Linked DNA regions of Homo sapiens: all the other regions are linked to region 1. The links are contacts of gene promoters, found by promoter capture Hi-C in blood cells and fetal thymus (Javierre and others, 2016). All regions are on one chromosome and are shown on one strand. The core of a region is centred on a gene start or on the middle of the fragment in contact, and the rest is flanking DNA. Distances in the headings are between cores, read along the strand shown.

Region 1 (3,130 bases), core at 209-2,708:
AGATGATTAGAGAAGTGTGCAGTCCAGAGCTAAGAGTTCATAATAAGAAATTTGGATTGTATTCTAAGTACAGCTGGAGGATTTTATGTGGATGCTTGACATATTTTGGTTTATGGTGGTGGTGGGAAGGTCACTCTAGTTGCTGTGTGTGGACTAGGTTGTAGTTGTGGGGAGGAATGGGAGCGGGAAGGGCAGTTGGAGGCTTCTGCAGTGGTTAAGGTGAGAGATGACGGTGGCTTGGACCAGTGTAGTTATCAGTGGCATGATGGCAATAAATAGATGGGGTCACGAGTTTTTCTGGAGGCTCTGGAATTTGGTGGCCAGGTCTTATGTGTACAGAGAGAATCCGCCCATGGATTCAGTGTGGGCAAGAATGGAGTGAGGGAAACTGAGGATGGCTCCTAGGTGTTTTATGGGTTTTAGGTTTTGGCTACCCTCAAATCTAGAAAAATTTGGCAATTTCGGCTCACATAATATATCAGCCTTTTTCTGCCTTGAGGATTTTCTCATTAGCTATGTCTCTCCATGAGCCTCTCATCTTTTCTATGCTCTGGGCTTTCTCTTCTTATGTTCTCTGTTTTGTGGGCTGAATATTTTTGAGCAGGGATGGCATTATTTAGAGCTTTTTATTGGTAGCCTACTGAGTGCTCAAACCTGTGCTAGTCCCTATAGGGAATATGGAAAGACTTCTTGGAGCCATTATTATGCTAGTGTCCATTGTGATGCTCCTGGCAAGGGCATTCTCCTATTCCTATGACCACAGAGCTTCCCCTTCCCCTTTGCCCTGAAGATTCTCTCATGGGACTAGTGTTTCATTGAATAACATGTTGGTTATGTGTAGCATGCTGGTTACGTGTAGCATGCTGGTTATGTGTAGCATGCTGGTTATGTGTGGCATGCTGGTTACGTGTAGTGTGCTGGTTACGCGTAGCATCCTGGTTATGTGAGGCATGCTGGTTAGGAGCTCTAGGCTCAGGATCTTGATTCTGCCCTCTTTGGTTGCATGAGCTGTGCAAGCTGCTTAACATCTTTCAGGCTAACTTTCTATATTTGTAAAATGGGAAACAGACTTCTTAGGAAGATTTTAAGAGATGTCTTACAGGACCTGGCAGATATATGCTCAATAAAAAGTAAACTAGCTGGTGTTGCTGCTGTTGCTCTTACTGTTGTTTTTATTGACTTGAATAAAGGAATCTTGCACCTGTCAAAATGAAACACTACATAGTAGGTCCTGATATTTTGCCATACTCAGCTGGTGATAAGAATCAGAGAAGCCAGCCATTTGAATAACTATGATTTATTGAATTCTTACCATGTTCTAAGTTCTTTATGTATACTGTTTCGTTTAATCTTCACAACAATTCTAGGAGTCAGGTTCAATTGTTATTGCCATTTGATAGATGATGAGGGCAATGAGTCTTAGAGAGGTTAAATAATTTGCTAAAGGCCACACAGCCTGTAAAGTGGCAGAAGCTGGGACCATCCAACTCTAAAGCCCACATTCTTAGACATTAGGGGATATTGAATGAAGTGTGTGTATGTATGGGGGAATTTAAGAGAATATCAAACCATTTGTAGAGTTCTACCCAATATAGAGACCTTATCTAATGTAAGAGAACTCTGAAGACATCTCATTGATTGAATGCTCTCCCCTTCATAGCAACTTCTTCTGCGGCTTCCTTGCCTGGTGCTCCAGTCTTTGAGGTATGCTTGATGGTTCTGAATTCAGATTTGAATCATGTGTCTGCCTGGTTTTTGTACCCTTGGACAGCAAACTTAATCGCCAAGGCTCAGTTTTCTTCCCTTTTTTTTTTTAAAGTGGTTATAATGGTATCTATGCCACAGGCTTGTGGTAAAACTTAGTCTGATGAGATCTGATACATGCTGATGTTTATTGGGCACTTAATATTATTATTAGTGAAACCTGGCTAAATATAACTCTTTGATGAATGTATGTAATTTCAGGGAGTTAGTTTTACTAAAGTACTTGAAAATGTTAATTGATCTAGGATACTTTTATTTCATAGACAACGTATAGGTAAAGTCAATAACAGTTATTTTAGATTTTGTGAATTCTAGGGTAGTAGCATTAGAATGGAAGTTTTATTTCTTTTAATTGGACTACAGCCACCATTCCATAAATCTACTGCACACCTTAAGTCACCCAGTGCTCTTGCATTCATCTTTGTTCATTGCTTGGATGTCAAGCAGTCTGCCTGGAGCTGCTTATAGAGGCCTAAATTTAGAATCTGCCTACCTATAAATAAGGTCCAGAAAGATAGATGACTTCGGTCACCTGAAACTGTTATTAGAAAACACATAGACTAACCTATCAAGGGAATGAGAGGGAGGACAAGAGAGGTAGGCCTAGGGAGAGGGAGGACAGAGCTTAAAAGGAGGGGTTGTGATGGATTGTTTAGCACCTGTAAACAAAGAACTGTGCCTGGGGCTCTCCTGGCTGTTGGAAATCCAGCCCAAATGTTCAATGACTCACTCAATCGTTGTTCAGCTTGTTTAAGTCCATGCCATTTGTACATATGATGGGATTTTATGAGACATTTTACAACAATTCCCCACCAGTGTTTGGGGAAATCATGTCATAAGATTCAACCTTCTTTCTTTTTCCATTCTGAGATGGTTTCTCCTAAAATAGCTTTTATGTGCCCTGAGCAGTTGGCTACTCTGTTTCTACTAAGAAATACAGGCTGGCCTCACTGAGCAGGAGGCCCTTGCATTTGATTTTCAGAAGAGCACATGTATTTGAAAGGATTTCATTGTCCTTTGTGCCAGGAAGCAACAATGTCTGAGTCAGACTCTTCTGGGTGACCAAAAGAAAGACTCACCTTATTGTTTTGTTATTCTTTATAGGTGGTTAAGGGTATAAGCTTTGTAGTAAGATGCATTTGGATTCATGCTCTGCCTTCATGTCTCCCCAGCTCTTATCTTGGGCAAGTTAGAAACCTCTTGGAACTTATTTGTCCATCTAAAAAATGGGGATGATAACGTCATCTCATAGGTTTGTTGTGAGGGTATTTAAAATACTTAGCAGTGCCTGGCACAGAGTTAACCCCTTAATAAATGGTATTGATTATAAGTATGAGGCTGTCTTCTCTGCCTCACCTTTCTCCTT
Region 2 (3,130 bases), core at 387-2,886, 680 kb after region 1:
CCAAGTAATGTTTCAAGAATTCTCTCTTATGGAAAAAGTGTTTTTGTTCACTTTGAAGGTAATTAAGGAGCAAGATAAGAGGTTATTGGATGTCCCTTGAGATAAGCTATTCTTGCCAGAATTCATCCTGACACTTGTATTTCATGTTGTTCCATCTGATATCTGATCTTGAACACATAATTTTATTAGTTACTTATGTTGATCTTTATTCAGCAAAAACAAAGTAGGAGATTTTCAGGCTAGGCATGGTTGCTTACGCCTGTAATCCCAGCACTTCAGGAGGCCGAGGCGGGCAGATCACGAGGTCAAGAGATCGAAACCATCCTGGCCAACATGGTGAAACCCCATCTCTACTAAAAAATACAAAAAAAATTAGCTGGGCATGCCAGTGTGCGCCTGTAGTCCCAGCTATTCAGGAGGCTGAGGCAGGAGAATCTCTTGAACCTGGGAGGTGAAGTTTGCAGTGAGCTGAGATTGCTCCACTGCACTCCAGCCTGGCAACAGAGCAAGACTCTGTCCAAAAAAAAACGGCTTGCTTATTTGATTATATAAGATATCTTTCATAAATTAGATCTCAAATTATACTATTGTTTTGCAGTTTTAGCTTTTATGTTTTAGGGCAAATCTTAAGTCCTAATTACTTTTTTTTTATTATTGTGGTAAAATGTATATAACAAAATGTACCATTTAATCATTTTAGAATATACGGTTTATGACATTAAGCACATTCACGTTATCATACAACCATCACCACTACCCATCTTCAGAACATTTCTCTTCTCGAATTGAAACTTTGTACCTCTGAAACAATAACATCCACATTCCATCCCCTCCCCAGTCCCTGTTAACAACCATTTGACTTTATGTCTCTATGAATTTAACTACTCTATGTACCTCATATAAATGGAACATATAAGATTTGTTCTTTTGCATCTGGTTTATTTCATTTAGCATATATTTTTAAGGTTCATCCATGTTGCAGCATGTGTCAAGATTCTCTTTCTTTTTAAGTCTGAGTCGTATTCCATTGTATGGATATACCACATTTTGTTTATCTTTTCATTAGTTGACATTGATTGTCCTCACCTTTTGATTTTTGTGAATAAGGCTGCTATAAACATTGGTGTGCAAATGTCTGTTCAAGTCCCTGTTTTCAATTCTTTTGGGTATATACCTAGTAGTGGAAGCACTGGATCATATAATTCCTTGTTTGACTCTCTGAGGAACCATCATACTGTCTTCTACCTAATTATGCTTTGTGTTTTAGTAATGGGACACAGCCTGGCATGATGGGCTAGAGTATTGGAAAGGCATGCACAGGTTCAAGTCTCAGCTGTGCCACGTGCCAGTAATCTACATGTTTCTATGAGAAGAGTCAAAGAGGATATAGCCTGGTCAACCATTATCAGACACTGGAGTCAGTTTGACTAATTATATGGTGTTCTAAGGAAACTTGAGGTACCACAAGAAAAGTCTCCAAACCTAAATAATTACTAATGAATTAATTGAGGGGGAAACTTATTTAACCTTTGTAAGCCTCAGTTTCTTTGTATGTAAAATGCAGGTAATAATTGGGCATACTTCATTAGGTCTTTGTGAGGATTGAATAAATAATGCAAGTAAAACACTTAGCAAAGTATTTCCCATAAAGTAACCACTCAATTAATGCTAATTAAGTGTTATTTACTAACATCAGAGTTTCCTAGTGTGAACTCTTTGAAGTACTTTAAGTTCTGAGAAAAACAAAATTAATTAAATGCAACTCTGTCGATTCCACAGTTAATTAGACCTATTCATGTTTCTATTGACTGGATTAACAGAACGGCAGATTTTATGGATTCTGTTAAAACCTATATAAAAACACTTTAAAAGAAGCCAAGTTATTGACTGCACAAAAACATAATCTCATCTGATATCTTTTTTATCCCCCTGAGGTTATTGTATTTTTGTTTAAGGCAAAATCAAGAACTAATTGGGATGAAAATAACTAAAGTTTACTTTGTCTGATTTAAGTCCCAAACTGACTAATAAGTAATCCCATTTGATCAACAGATTCAGTGAAAACTGTCCCCCATTCTCAACTACCATATGGATATTCTGAGAAATAATTAATGATGCAGAAAACCATTTTTTGTTTTCTGAAATAAAAGAATAGACGTGCAAGTAACACTTCTTTTTAATGCTTACAACCTTTTTTAAAAAATCTACTTTATTTTCTCTATCTGAATGCACTAGATTTTGTTTGTTTGTTTTTGTGGTTGGTTGGTATGGTTTTGCTTATTGAGGTTTTCAGGCTGATTTAGAAAAAAGAAATTTTTACAGGAGAGAGTGGACTTGTTTACAATTCAGAGTTGAGGCAACAAAAAAAAATCTTGCAGTCATTATGAGTAATATGTGTATCCAAGTTTATACAAAGAATGTAAAGGTGATAAAGTTGGCTTAGTTAAATCAAGAGACAGCCTTCTTCTAGAATATTATAGCTAAGAAAATTTGGACTTAAGTTTAAAAAGCTGCTCTAAAGAGTTCATCAATGCCCTGAGTTTGCAGAGAGTTCAATTATTGCATTATTCTTTGGACTTGCTGAAAACTCAGTGTTCTACTTTTATTTGGCAACACCATCTCCTAGGATATGTGGCTGTTTCCAGTTTTCCAGCATCTTCAGTGACAGAGGCAATGGGATCCTTTAAAATGTTGGGCCAAGAAAATTGGCCACAGATTTGCAATCCAAAAGAAATAGGAGGTTGCTAAATTGATTCCAGCTATGAAGGACATCGAAAATTTCTTTTGTTATTTGACTGTCTATCATGGTCTATTTGCACTCAATTTAATAGGCAAATGAATTTCCGACTTTCCCTTAGCAGCCTTGAGTAATGCTGTCTCGTATTTATTATTTTGCATTAGAATGGTTGGAAAAGTTAAAGGAAAATTTCCCTAGCAAGAATTGGCTTCTTAAAAAAATAAGTCATCTTGGACAACCTAACATTTAGTAAAGGCATTTGTCATAAATAACCTCAAGTCCAATTTATGGCAAGGGTTTTAATTTGTAAGGGCTTTATTTCTCCATACAAAGGGATTGGAGAAACAAACTAGAAAGCCAGAAAACAGACCACAAACACTGAGCTAGTGGTTC
Region 3 (3,130 bases), core at 410-2,909, 640 kb after region 1:
ATAAAATGCTCATCATCACTAATCATCAAGGAAATGCAAATGAAAACTACAATAAGATATCACCTCGCCCTAGTGAGAGTGACTATCATCAATAAGACACAAAATAACAAATGTCAGCATGGATATGGAGAAAAGGGAAGTATTATACACTGTTGGTGGGAATGTAAATTAGTATAGCCATTCTTGAAAACAGTAAGGAGTTTCCTCAAAAAATTAAAAATAGAACTATCATATGATCTCGCAGTTTCACTACTGGGTATATACCCACAGGAAATAAGATCAGTATGTTGAAGAGACATCCGCATCCCCACGTTTATTGCAGCACTATTCATGATAGCCAAAATATGAAATCAACTTAACTGTCCATCTCAGGATGAATGGATTAAAAAATGTGACATATATTTTGTTTTTGCTTTTATTTTTAAATGTCGATTTTACAGTAAGAAAGAGAGATAGAGAAATCAGAGAGCTGGGCATCGTTTGAAATCTAGGTGGAGAAAGTCATGGCTCCCCAGCTCTTGTGCTCTGCATGCCTACAGAATTAGCACCACTTAGATATTACCAAGGCTTAGTGCCCAAGCCGCACCTGGACCCTGAGCCACAACTAGAGTGACTGAGGAGCATTGTGCTGAAATGTGGGGAGCAGGGACTTAAAGCAGCCTTGGGCAGTGAACATTGTGGTCCAGTGAGTCCCCTAGGTCCCTTCCTCCAAACCATTCTGTCCTCAAGGCTCTGGCACTCTGGGCCTGTGATGGGAGGGGCAGCCTCAAAGATCTCTAAAATGCCTTTGGGGTCATTCTCCCATTGGAGAATTGGTGGGTCTTATAAATAGCACCCACCTTCCTTCTATTCTTCTCATCCAATGGTAGCTTAGCTACATCCTTGGTTTTCCTTCCCAAATATTTTTTTTTATTTTTAGTTTTTCACATGGCCAGATTGAGTTTTCCAAATCTCTATGTTTTGTTTCCCTTTTGATCATAAATTCATCTTTAAATCATTTTTCCGTTTTCACATTTTACTATGAGCAGTTAAGAGAAGTCACATAGCACTCTCTATGCTTTGCTTCTTAGAGATTTCATCTGCCAAATATCCTAATTCATGCTGTTAAGTTCTGCCTTCCACAAAGTTCTAGAACAGGAACATAGTTTAGTCAATTTCTTTTTTTTTTTTTATCTTTTCTTTTTTGTTTTTTTTGAGACAGGGTCTGGCTTTGTTGCCCAGGCTGGGTGCAGTGGCACAATCTCAGCTCACTGCAACCTCCAGCCCCTGGGCTCAAGTGATTCTCCTCCCTCAGCCTTCCAAGTAGCTGGAACTTCAAGTGTGCACAACCATGCCTGGCTTATTTTTGTATTTTTTGTAGATAGGAGGTCTCACTTTGTTGCCCAGGCTGGTCTCAAACTCCTGGCCTCAAGCTATCCACCCACTTTGGCCTCCAAAATTGCTGGGACTACAGGTATGCCCCACTGTGACTGGCTAGCTAATTTCTTCACCACTTTGTAACAAGAATGGCCTTTCTTCCAGTTTCCAATGAGACATTCCTCATTCCATCTAAGACCTCATCTGAATGACCTTTATTGTCTGTTTTTCTATGAGCATTCTCGTCATGACGTCTTAAATAATATCCAAGGAGATTCAGATTTTCCCTACAGCTCTTCTTTTCTTCTGAGCCCTCACCAGAATCACCCTCCATGCTCCATTCATGGCAATAAAGGCTTTTTTCAGCATTCACTTCAAAACTATTCTAGCCTCTCTCCATTACCCAGTATCAAAGTTCCTTCCACATTTTTAGATATTTGTTATAGTAACACCCCTCTCCTGGTACAAATTTCTGTGTTAGTCTGTTTTATGCTGAGACTGACTAATTTTAAAAGCAGAGAAATGAGTTCCTTCACAGTTCTGGAGACTGGGAAGTTTAATTTCAAGGTGCTAGCATCTAGTGAAGGCCTTCTTGCTGTTCCTTACATGGCGAAAGGAAGAAGGGCAAAAGAGAGTGAACCCACTACCACAGGTCCTTTTTATAGTGGCATTAGTCTATTTTTGAGGGCAGAACCCTTATGACCTAAGCACCTCCCATTAGACCCCACCTCCCAACAGTGTGGCTTTGGCAGTGAAGTTTCTAACAGATAAAATTTGGAGACACATTCGAGCCATAACATAGAGGAAGTTACCATTTAAAATGTAGTCTATTTAGAATATTGAGATTCTGAGTGACTTTTACATTTTTTATTGTGTATTTCTATAAGTAAAGGCCAAAGCAATGTTTTTCTTTTATAATAAAGAGTGATTCATTGGCATTTTATTTTTTTTCCAAATCATCTTTAATTTGGATAGAAATTGCTTTAGATTAATGGATTTATCTTATTTTTTCCTGAGACTGTTTTTCAATCAGCAAAACGACTGTTGATATAGTTAATCTAAAGATCTCTGATATGATAGATGTCTAAGAGTAACCACTCTGTGCACACTAAAATGCTAGAAAGGAAACAAACCAAATAAGTAAAGAAGGCTATTTCCTGAGAGAAGGATTCAGAGGGAAGGACTTTCCTTTCCTCTGTACCTTTCTCTATGGTTTAAATTTAAAAAAAAAACCAGTGAATATCATTTTGTTACTAAAATTGAAACCAATATTTTAACAGAACATAATCTGCACTGCAAAAGTACTAACTCCTATATGATGAAAACTGAAGGTCACAGCCAAGTCTCAGGTGTTGTAGACACTGAATTTCAACATTGGCTTTGTGACACCACAACAGAATTTCAATTACAGGATGCTCTGTGTTTAGAAAGAAGGAATATTAGAGACCATCTAATCCAAACCTCATCTGACAAATGAGTAACCTAAAACTTAAATATCATGGTCAGAAAAATGATAAAAATGTGTGTTCAATTACTAGATATTGTATTCTTTCATTCATTCGCCAAATAGATACTGAGAATCTGCTGTGTGCCTGGCACTGTTCTATGCATGAGGGAGCCAATGAACAAAACAGAAGCAATTCCAGCCATTGTGAAAGTTAGACTCTAATGGGCTCCATTGCTTAGGTCAGTGACTCTGGACCTCTGGATCCTTGAAGATGCTGAATTATCAGTGGCTCCTAAACTGTGGTGTTTCAGGGATACTATGGTTTAA
Region 4 (3,130 bases), core at 266-2,765, 620 kb after region 1:
CCATTACTGGTGGATATGGTAATCTCTGTTTACTGATGAAGTAGCTGAGTCTCTGAGAGATCAAATCACTTGCTCCCCAAAACCAGAGCTATCTAGCTTCAAAATCAATGTATTTAGCAGTAGGCCACATTCTTTTTCATAGACCCACAGCCAGGACAGAGTGATTCCAAGTCTCTTCTTCCCTCTGTTTCTCCATCTGCAAAAAAAAAAAAAAAAAAAAAGAGAGAGAATCATATTTTCTCTGTTGAAAACTGCAACAGTTTGTGTGAAGAACCAAAGAGATTCAATGTCAAAGAACTTTGAAAAGTATGAAGACATAAGGGATTCATATTTACACCCATATTTCAGCTAAGTTTCCTTATCTGGCATCAACAATTAGAAAACGCCAAGTCTCTCCCACTCGTGCTGATAAGGCTGTGACTAATAATGTATTCCCTACTTTCCTTTATAGCAGGACTCAGATCATTGTTTGTATCCAGCCTTTTCCCAGACAGCCCTGTACTTTAAGACTGATACACCTGTAACCCCAGCAGCTTGGGAGGCCGAGGTGGGCAGATCACCTCAGGTCGGAAGTTTGAGACCAGCCTGACCAACATGGAGAAACCCCGTTTCCTCTAAAAATACAAAATTAGCTGGGTGTGGTGGCCCATGCCTATAATCCCAGCTATTTGGGAGGCTGAGGCAAGAGAATTGCTTGAACCCAAGAGGCGGAGGTTGTGGTGAGCCAAGATTGCGCCATTGCACTCCAGTCAGGGGAACAAGAGTGAAACTCCATCTCAAAAAAAAAAAAAAAAAAATTGATATGGTTTGGCTGTGTCCCCACCCAAATCTCATCTTGAATTGTAGCTCCCATAATCCCCACATGCCATGGGAGAGACTCAGTGGGAGGTAATTGAATCATGGGGGCAGGTTTTCCCATGCTGTTCTCATAATAGTGAATAAGTCTCATGAGATCTGATGGTTTTATACAGGGAAGTTCCCCTACACATGAGCTCTTGCCTGCTGCCATGTAAGATGGGTCTTGCTTCCGCTTTGCCTTCTGCCATGATTATGAGGCCTCCCCAGCCAGGTGGAACCGTGAGTCCATTAAACCTCTTTTTCTTTATAAATTACCCAGTCTTGGGTATGTCTTTATTAGCAGCATGAAAACAAATACAAGATTAAGCTGCCTTCATCCCCAGGTTCAAGGGTGGACACTGACAGGTCTAAGTTAATCAAAGTAATCTCAGTCCCCTGAATATAGTGATTCTTTCAGTTAACTTTGACTTAAGACAAGCAGCCCATGTATTCCCCTAACTAGGAGATTGAATTGAATTTGGACCAATTAGGTGCGTATTGATTATATGCTATGTAGCTGAGAAGCCTGAAACCATAATAGCTATTGTCCACTGCAAGGGAGGGTGGTCATAGGACAACACTGATGATATCAAAAGTAATAAAAACTTAAAAAAATGGGCTGGGCACAGTGGCTTACACCTGTAATCCCAGCACTTTGGGAGGCTAAGGCAGGCAGATCACCTGAGGTCAGGAGTTCAAGACCAGCCTGGCCAACATGGTGAAACCCCATCTCTACTAAAATTAGAGACTATAAAAATTAGCCAGGCATGGTGGTGTGCGCTATATTTCCAGCTACTCAGGAGGCTGAGACAGGAGAATCGCTTGAACCTGGGAGGAGGAGGTTGCAGTGAGCCTAGATCAAACCATTGCATTCCAGCCTGGACAACAGAGCAAGACTCCGTCTCAAAAAAAATGTTATTTATATTATTATGCTCAAGTTTTTGACAGTTTCTGTCCAACATCTGATGATCCTCCACCCTTCTTGAAGGTGATTATTTTTAGGACATCCTCATTTAAACTTGCATATTTAATCTCTGTCTCATCCCTAAGTCATTAATATTATTGCATCCAATTACTTTATATGAAAAGGCAATCTAATCTTCGCCTCGTTGTCTCATTTCCTAAAGCACTAAAACTTCATGTTGACTTTTGGGGCACGCGGGGAGAGATGTTTCCTAGTACTGCATTTTACAAATTAATGTTTGTTAGGCATAATTCCTTGAAATGGACTTGTGCTCTCTGGGATTCATCTTACTTTGTAAGTCGGAAGCACCTTTTCCTTCACTGAGAAGTGCCACTGACTGTTTAAGACTCTACTTTTTACATGTAAAGCAAGAAATATTAGTAAAATAAGGTAAATAACTTACTTTTTAGTATTAAAATGCTGTTGTCAAAGAATTGTATGCCAATGCTCAAAAAATAGATGTTTCTTACATCTCCTTAAAAGAGGAGTTTTGAAATAGAAAACAGATAAATGGGAATGTTTTATTCCACCCCAGAGCTGACTTCGTATAAGGACTTCGGGTTTCTGCATTTGCCTCCCAACCCCAAATTTTATATTTTTGGTGGCCAATTTCTTGTGGTCTGGAAGAAGCTAATTTACATTAACTAGCTCCCAGCAATTGCCTGTCCTTAAAGGCTCTCAAATCCACTTCTTCTTTTGCCCATCACAACAGACACTGCCCAGATTCAGGGCCCCATCACTTCCACCTTGCTGACCACAATAGACTTCTCACCATTGTTTCTCACTCCTGTTTCTCGTCCAGTGTCTGCACCTTGTTGCTGCTGGAGCTTTCTTTTTTTTTTTTTTTTTAATATATATATATTTATTATACTTTAAGTTCTAGGGTATATGTGCACAACGGGTAGGTTTGTTACGTATGTATACATGTGCCACGGTGGTGTGCTGCACCCATTAACTCGTCATTTACATTAGGTATTCTTCCTAATGCTATCCCTCCCCCCTCCCCCCACTCCACAACAGGCCCCAGTGTGTGATGTTCCCCTTCCTGTGTCAAAGTGTTCTCATTGTTCAATTCCCACCTATGAGTGAGAACATGCGGTGTTTGGTTTTTTGTCCTTGGGATAGTTTGCTGAGAATGATGGTTTCCAGCTTCACCCATGTCCCTGCAAAGGACATGAACTCATCATTTTTTATGGCTGCACAGTATTCCATGGTGTATATGTGCCACATTTTCTTAATCCAGTCTATCATTGTTGGACATTTGGATTGGTTCCAAGTCTTTGCTATTGTGAATAGTGCCGTAATAAACATACACGTGCATGTGTCTTT
Region 5 (3,130 bases), core at 174-2,673, 590 kb after region 1:
GTTAAGAATTCAGACTTGGGGGCCACGTGCGGTGGCTCATGCCTGTAATCCCAGCACTTTGGGAGGCCAAGGCAGGCGGATCACTTGAGGTTAGGAGTTCGAGACCAGCCTGGCCATCATGGTGAAACCCCGTCTGTACCAAAATTACAAAAATTAGCCGGGCGTGGTGGCAGGCACCTGTAATCCCAGCTACTCAGGAGGCTGAGGCAGAGGAATTGCTTGAACCCGGGAGGCGGAGGTTGAAGTGAGCCCAGATCACACCACTGCACTCCAGCCTGGTTGACAAGAGTGAGACTCTGTCTCAAAAAAAAAAAAAAAGAAAAGAAAAGAAAAAAAAATTCAGACTTGGGAGTCAGGCAGATTTGAGTACCAGTCCCAGGCCTGACATTTATTGAATGTACAATCTTGAACAAGGGTTTGACTTCTCTGGGGCTCCATTTCCTTATATGCAAAATGTTTATCTTTATCTATTACCCTTATCTATCTCTTTGGGGTTTGTGAGCATTAAGTGAGCTAATGCGGGTAAACCACTGGGCACCATACTGGATGGCAGAAAGCACTCAATGGTGGTAGCTGGTCCTGCGGTAAATGGCTTTCACACAGGGATGGTTCCAACAGAGATATCTAAATGCAAACAAGTGCCTAGTAAATGAACACTCAAAGGTTAAGTACTTAAACCGAAGGAGTAAAATGTTCAACGTGAGTTTATGTTTTTCTGTTAGTTCTATTCTTTGCTGAAGCTAAGGAGGGGTGGTAAGGAGCCACTGGTATTTGTATAGGGGAATCTCATTTCCTTTAGTGCAGGAGTGTGTCCATACCCGGAACCGCCCCTCGCTATGGAAACCAGCACAGGCAGTCCCACAAAGCCCTTGAATGTTTAGCAATTTCCCAAATCATAGCAACAAGCCAGAGAAAAGGATGCAGCTGAAAATAGCAAAGGTGGAGACCCAAGAGGCAGTGGGGTCACTCCTAATGCTGAGCAAGTTTTTAGTAATCTTATCTGCTATGCCCCCAGCATCTTTTCTTTTGTTAAAAAGCTGTGGCAAAAATAATGCTGTCAGCAAAATGCAGAGAGCAGTGAGTCTGATGTAAAATAATGATTCCGTTCTCTAAAGGCTCATGGTTCTTTACAGTCATTGTATACCACATGCTTTTGAGGCTGGAAGTTGACAGGTAACATCAGAGGGAAGAAAAGGAGAATTAATTTGCTTAGTCTGGACTGCTATTGAGAACCTGGGCTGTAGATTTGGCTCAGCCACAAAATCAAGACATAATATGCACAAGCCCTTTTGCCTGTGAAGCCCTGGCCTCAGTTTCTTCACCTTTGAGATGAATGGTTTCTAAAGAGAAGCTGAGCTCCATGAAGGCAGGGCTTAATGAATCCTTGGTACCTATAGTAAGGCCTGACACACAGCAGGTGCTGAATAAATCAGATATTATTGTTATCAAACTAGCAAAGTTAAGACGATCCTTTACTTTGCTATTGAGACTCCCTTCTATGAGCATATCGAAGAAGCTATGAGTCCAAAACTAGCCAAGTAACCCTTTAAAAGAAGTGACGCTGCCTTTCCAAAGCCAGGCTAATACTGCATACAGACTACACAAGGGCCAAGATGCCCAGCCCAAAGCTGAATGAATCCTTCTTAGAATCACAGGGTTGTGAGGAGCACTTGAGGTCCTCCTTCTCTGCATCACCATCAGAGCCTCTCCACTGAATGGGAAGGCTGCAGTATTTGGAGGAAGCCCAGCTGTTTGAGGGAATAGCAATAGCTAACCCTTCACAGCTTAGAAACATTGTCTTATTTGGACAGAAGTCTTGTGAGAAAGGGAAGTGGGTGGCTTATCCAATGTAGGATGAAGAAACTGAAACTCAGACAAGGTATCCACTTGATCAAAGTTAATTCATTGGTAAGTAGAACAGCCAGGAATTGAGCCTGAGAATTTAAACTCCAAGATCCCAGCATTCCATAGTAAGAAACTGTGGATCCCCATCTGTTCCCACACTATGCTCAAAGATCCTGTGTCCCGAGCAGAACAGTAATTCGTAATAACCAGCATTCATTGCTCCTAGCATTACCAGATACTGTAACTCAGGCACTGTTCTCAGCACATTACATGTTAACACATTTCATCACAGCAATGCTGTGAGGCAGGCACTACTTTTATTCCCAATTCAGAGATGAATGAAGCACATAGATTTTGAAGTAGCTTGCCAGAGTTTACCCAGCTACCAAGGGAGGCTGTAGGTAATCAGGGAATCATTAAGTCCCTTTCTCCCACTCATGAGAGAGTGTCTGGGAGGTTGGGGTTTAGGAAGAGCCCCTCCATCTTTAGCTCACCAAAATGTGCCTAGGGAATCCAAAGAGGTCTGACTATGTTTGAGGATGGAAATTGGCCAGCGTCTGTCATCTCAGGTTTGCAGCTGCCAACACCAAAGGGATATATTCCCTTTCCTTTGTGGAGTCATGCATCATGACCTCCTTCTCTATTTCCAGCAGCTGCACCCTTTCATTTTGCCAAAAGTTTTCTCACTGATTAAGGCAGGTCTGAGAGAAGAGTTGGCCTGGGATTTCCAGGAGCCTCTTCTGTCACTGGCTCCTCTGAGTGAGGATTAGATAGCAAAGGTAGGGCAAGGAGAAGGTAGGGCCATTAGAAAACCCATTTGGTTTTCAAACACCTACCATGTGACAAACACTGAAATTAGCCCATTCACTCATTCAAAATGAGTTTACTGGGCACCTATTATGTGCCAACCTGGCTGTTCAATATTAATTAATTTTAAAATACCATTGGTCATCTATAAATATGAAGCCTGATAATAGGCATTATGCGTGAGTGATGATGGTTATGATAAAATTAATATTTATTAAAAACTTACCAGTGTTCTAAGGATATGCCATTTAATGATTTAATCATCATGACTGTAAGATTACTACTATTACTGTTTCTATTTTATAGACCATAAAACATATGGCTAGAAGTTTAATAAATTAGCCAATATCACACAAGGGGTAATTTGTAGAGCCTGGATATAAAAATGACTAGAACTCAGTCCCAGCCTTAGGGGAGGCTCAGTCATTGTAACCTATTCACCCCTCACAACAACCCAGTGAGATAAGCAGTACCATTA
Region 6 (3,130 bases), core at 306-2,805, 540 kb after region 1:
CATTTTCCTGCTTTTCATTGCCCTGTTGCTATTGCTATTCACAGAAATGTAGGCATCTGCCCCTATAGCTAATACTCTTCATTTCTCCAGTCACCCTCTCTTCTCTGCTTGCTCAGGCTTTTGTTGCAGGGCACAGTGACTGAGTCATCAGCTGGCTCTGGTCTTCATGTGCCTCAGCAGACGCAAAGGGCAGCATCTTTGTCTTAGTTGGTGATCTGAATAATTCCCATCTCTATGTTCCTGAAATTAAGATGATGATGATGATGATGATAGCAAGTAGCCTTCACTAATCACTTAAGGTGTGCCAGGCATAACTTTATTTAATCCTCACAGCAACCCTAAGAGCTCCACTTCTCGTTCTGCAGAAGTGAAAGCTGAGGCTTAGAGAGGCTAAGTATGTTGCTCAAAGTCATATACAGCGAATAAATCAGGGAACCATGGAGACAGGCACTTTCTTGTTTCTGCCTCCGATCAGATTGTTTTCATCTCCTTTAATGTTCTCTCCTATTGGATGCCTCTGATATACTGGCTTAGAAATAGGGTGTCTCATTGGCCAGGTTTTCCACATCATGGAGGTGATGTAAATATATAGGGGAGCTGATAGGGAATGTCAGTCAACATGAAAAATTCAACCATCACCAGTCTAGGGAAACAATAGAGTGAAACACAGTCCTAGACCCAAGTCTCATTACTGACATTTAATATTAAAACTGATTTCAAGAGACAACCACTGGGATAGTTGAATAATTACAAATCCAATTTAATAAATGCTCTCTAATTTTATTTGTCACATATTAGAACTGGATTCAGAATCTAAAAATCACTGTTAAATTGAAGAATCTGAATAAGCAGGAGGTCCAAAATAAAGTCGAACTGACTCAATTCGATTATATTTGATAAACATGGTTTGGTAAGAGGTGTTTTCAAAACATCATTGTCCTATCCAATGTGTATTTACCAAGTAAAACACATAAGCTGCACTCCAGAAAGCATTCAAATTTAAAGACAGTAATGCATCATTTCTCCAGCATTTGTTACCCAAAATTCTTTTGCATAAACAATTTTCCTGGAGTATTATTGAAAACCTATTCTTCAGAGGAGACTGACCTGTTTCTCACTAGCATGATAGCCCCCCAACAGGGACACTCGCAGTGACTGTAGGGCCCTAAATGATAGCTGGTCCAGTAGTTGCCTCTGATGCAGACTTTAGAAGCCATATCCAAGTTGAGGTCTGAAATATTCTTGTACCTTTATAGGTATCTGTACATACACTGAATGGTAACTTTTCAGAGGTAGAAATGGAACAGAATAGCGTAGTGGTGAAATACAAAAGTTTTGAGATTAGACCCCAGCATCTCAGTCTTGGGCCTTCTATCTAGAGTGAAGATATTAGTGATATTCACTTCCTAGGGCTGTTGTGAGGGTTATATAAGAAAATGCCTTTATATCTCTTAGCAAAGCCACCAGATAGTGAGAACTAAATAGTAAGAACCACATTATTATTACTACTGTAACCACTATCAATACCACCATATTACTACCACTATTATTACTATTACCATCATCCTATTACCATTACTCCTCCTCCTCTTCTTCCAACTACCACCGCTGCCCCCATGGCAATTACAACTACACTGTTACTATCCATCTTCATACACTTTTAAAATGTCTTTTCTACATCCTCATTTTCTTATGTGTTCTTTTACTGCTTCTATTTATAATAAGAAATGAAATTGTTTTTCCTGCCAAATGAGTCACTTGAGATTGGAACATCAATTTATTTGAGCAGATGTGTGTCAGTTTTGCTGTGAATAAAAGGTCCCAATAAAAGGTCCCAAAAGGTCCCAAAATATTGCTCTGCTGACATATTTAATGAAAAACGAAGTGTGGGTTGTACATAAATTCATATTCTCAGCTCAAGTCCCACTTCCTTTCAAAAGCCTTTGGCCCACATTGATGTCTGCCTTGTCTGAAACAGCAATCATTATATTCTCTAATTCTTCCATGTTTGTGAAACTTATTTCCCCGATTAATAAGCTACCTGTAGGCAGACTTTAATACCATAAACATAATAGGCATTCCACAAATATTGATATGTGAAGATGGTATTGAATAAGTCAAGACTCTGAGCCCTATAAATATATCTATTTGTTCATGTAACCTAAAGTCCAGGGATAGGTCAGGGACAGCTGGGTCTGGGGTCTCACAAGTTGCCATCAGGGTTCAGTCTCCCTCTCTCAGATCTACTTCCCTTTCTCAGATCTGCTTCCCTCTGCTATTTCCAGGTAGGCTCATACCTTGTGTTAGGGGGCTGTGTTCATATTCTCACAGCAACAAATGCAGTGGAAAATACACTGCCTTTCCCTAGCCACTCCTACATATATCTCAGTGTAGGCAACTTCAGTTATGTGCCCACCCCAGACCTAATGGGCATGTAGTGAGCCCCATCCAATCACCTGAGCCCAGTGAAGCGGAGGAAAAACCTTCCCAAAGAAATTCTGGAATAAGAGCAATAGCCTTTGGTTGGCGAAAAAGCCTCTATAGAGATCTCGCTTTTCTTCTGTTACTGCCTTAGCTCTAAACACAGTGTAAAAAATAAAAATATAAAACACAGCAGGTACTCACAGTAAATTTTGAGATGAATGGATTTTTATGTATTAAACCTTCAGCCTAAATCCTAATCTGTTTTTCCTTCTGACTGACACTTTGTGGCTAGATCCTAAAAATGTGGAAATATTTGCTTGAAATCCACATAGTTTTAAAGTTTACTCACGCCTGTAATCCCACCACTTTGGGAGGCCGAGGCGGGCAGATCACGAGGTCATGAGATCAAGACCATCCTGGCTCACACGGTGAAACCCCGTCTCTACTGAAATTACAGAAAAATTAGTTGGGCGTGGTGGCGGGCGCCTGTAGTTCCAGCTACTTGGGAAGCTGAGGCAGGAGAATGGCGTGAACCTGGGAGGCGGAGTTTGCAGTGAGCCGAGATTGTGCCACTGCACCCCAGCCTGGGCAACAGAGCGAGACTCCGTCTCAAAAAAAAAAAAAATTTAGATTAATTCAGGGGTGGCAGACCCATAAAGTATCAGGGGTCTAGATACTAGACCCATCTAGTATCATCCTGTCATCT

What was found. Contacts are between HindIII fragments. The CHiCAGO score rates a contact against its expected background, and 5 or more counts as called.
Region 2: a contact is called between a fragment that was not itself captured here and the fragment with the promoter of PPP2R2B-AS2 in region 1, in 1 of 17 cell types (total CD4 T cells). The highest score is 5.4, in total CD4 T cells.
Region 3: a fragment that was not itself captured here is called in contact with the fragment with the promoter of PPP2R2B-AS2 in region 1 in 4 of 17 cell types (naive CD4 T cells, total CD4 T cells, total CD8 T cells and 1 more); the score reaches 13.9 in naive CD4 T cells.
Region 4: a contact is called between a fragment that was not itself captured here and the fragment with the promoter of PPP2R2B-AS2 in region 1, in 4 of 17 cell types (naive CD8 T cells, total CD4 T cells, naive CD4 T cells and 1 more). The highest score is 9.7, in naive CD8 T cells.
Region 5: a fragment that was not itself captured here is called in contact with the fragment with the promoter of PPP2R2B-AS2 in region 1 in 4 of 17 cell types (naive CD4 T cells, total CD4 T cells, total CD8 T cells and 1 more); the score reaches 6.5 in naive CD4 T cells.
Region 6: a fragment that was not itself captured here is called in contact with the fragment with the promoter of PPP2R2B-AS2 in region 1 in 1 of 17 cell types (total CD8 T cells); the score reaches 5.1 in total CD8 T cells.

Annotation. Positions count from the first base shown.
Region 1 is chr5:146,561,768-146,564,897 of GRCh38, forward strand. It overlaps PPP2R2B-AS2 (PPP2R2B antisense RNA 2), which reads left to right and starts at 1,459. Exons shown (of 6, transcript NR_188288.1): 1 at 1,459-1,704. The HindIII fragment of the contact is 13,845 bases long and covers 1-2,883 here.
Region 2 is chr5:147,243,220-147,246,349 of GRCh38, forward strand. All of the region lies in intron 2 of STK32A (serine/threonine kinase 32A), which reads left to right. Among named protein-coding and RNA genes, the nearest start is that of STK32A, 9.8 kb to the left of the region's middle. The HindIII fragment of the contact is 8,414 bases long and covers 1-3,130 here.
Region 3 is chr5:147,203,196-147,206,325 of GRCh38, forward strand. The region is part of intron 1 of STK32A-AS1 (STK32A antisense RNA 1); the gene reads right to left. Among named protein-coding and RNA genes, the nearest start is that of STK32A-AS1, 30 kb to the right of the region's middle. The HindIII fragment of the contact is 3,791 bases long and covers 1-3,130 here.
Region 4 is chr5:147,180,549-147,183,678 of GRCh38, forward strand. It overlaps STK32A-AS1 (STK32A antisense RNA 1), which reads right to left. Exons shown (of 4, transcript NR_147190.1): 3 at 1-196. Among named protein-coding and RNA genes, the nearest start is that of STK32A-AS1, 53 kb to the right of the region's middle. The HindIII fragment of the contact is 4,960 bases long and covers 1-3,130 here.
Region 5 is chr5:147,155,394-147,158,523 of GRCh38, forward strand. No RefSeq gene overlaps it. Among named protein-coding and RNA genes, the nearest start is that of STK32A-AS1, 78 kb to the right of the region's middle. The HindIII fragment of the contact is 3,896 bases long and covers 1-3,130 here.
Region 6 is chr5:147,101,710-147,104,839 of GRCh38, forward strand. No RefSeq gene overlaps it. Among named protein-coding and RNA genes, the nearest start is that of STK32A-AS1, 130 kb to the right of the region's middle. The HindIII fragment of the contact is 6,090 bases long and covers 1-3,130 here.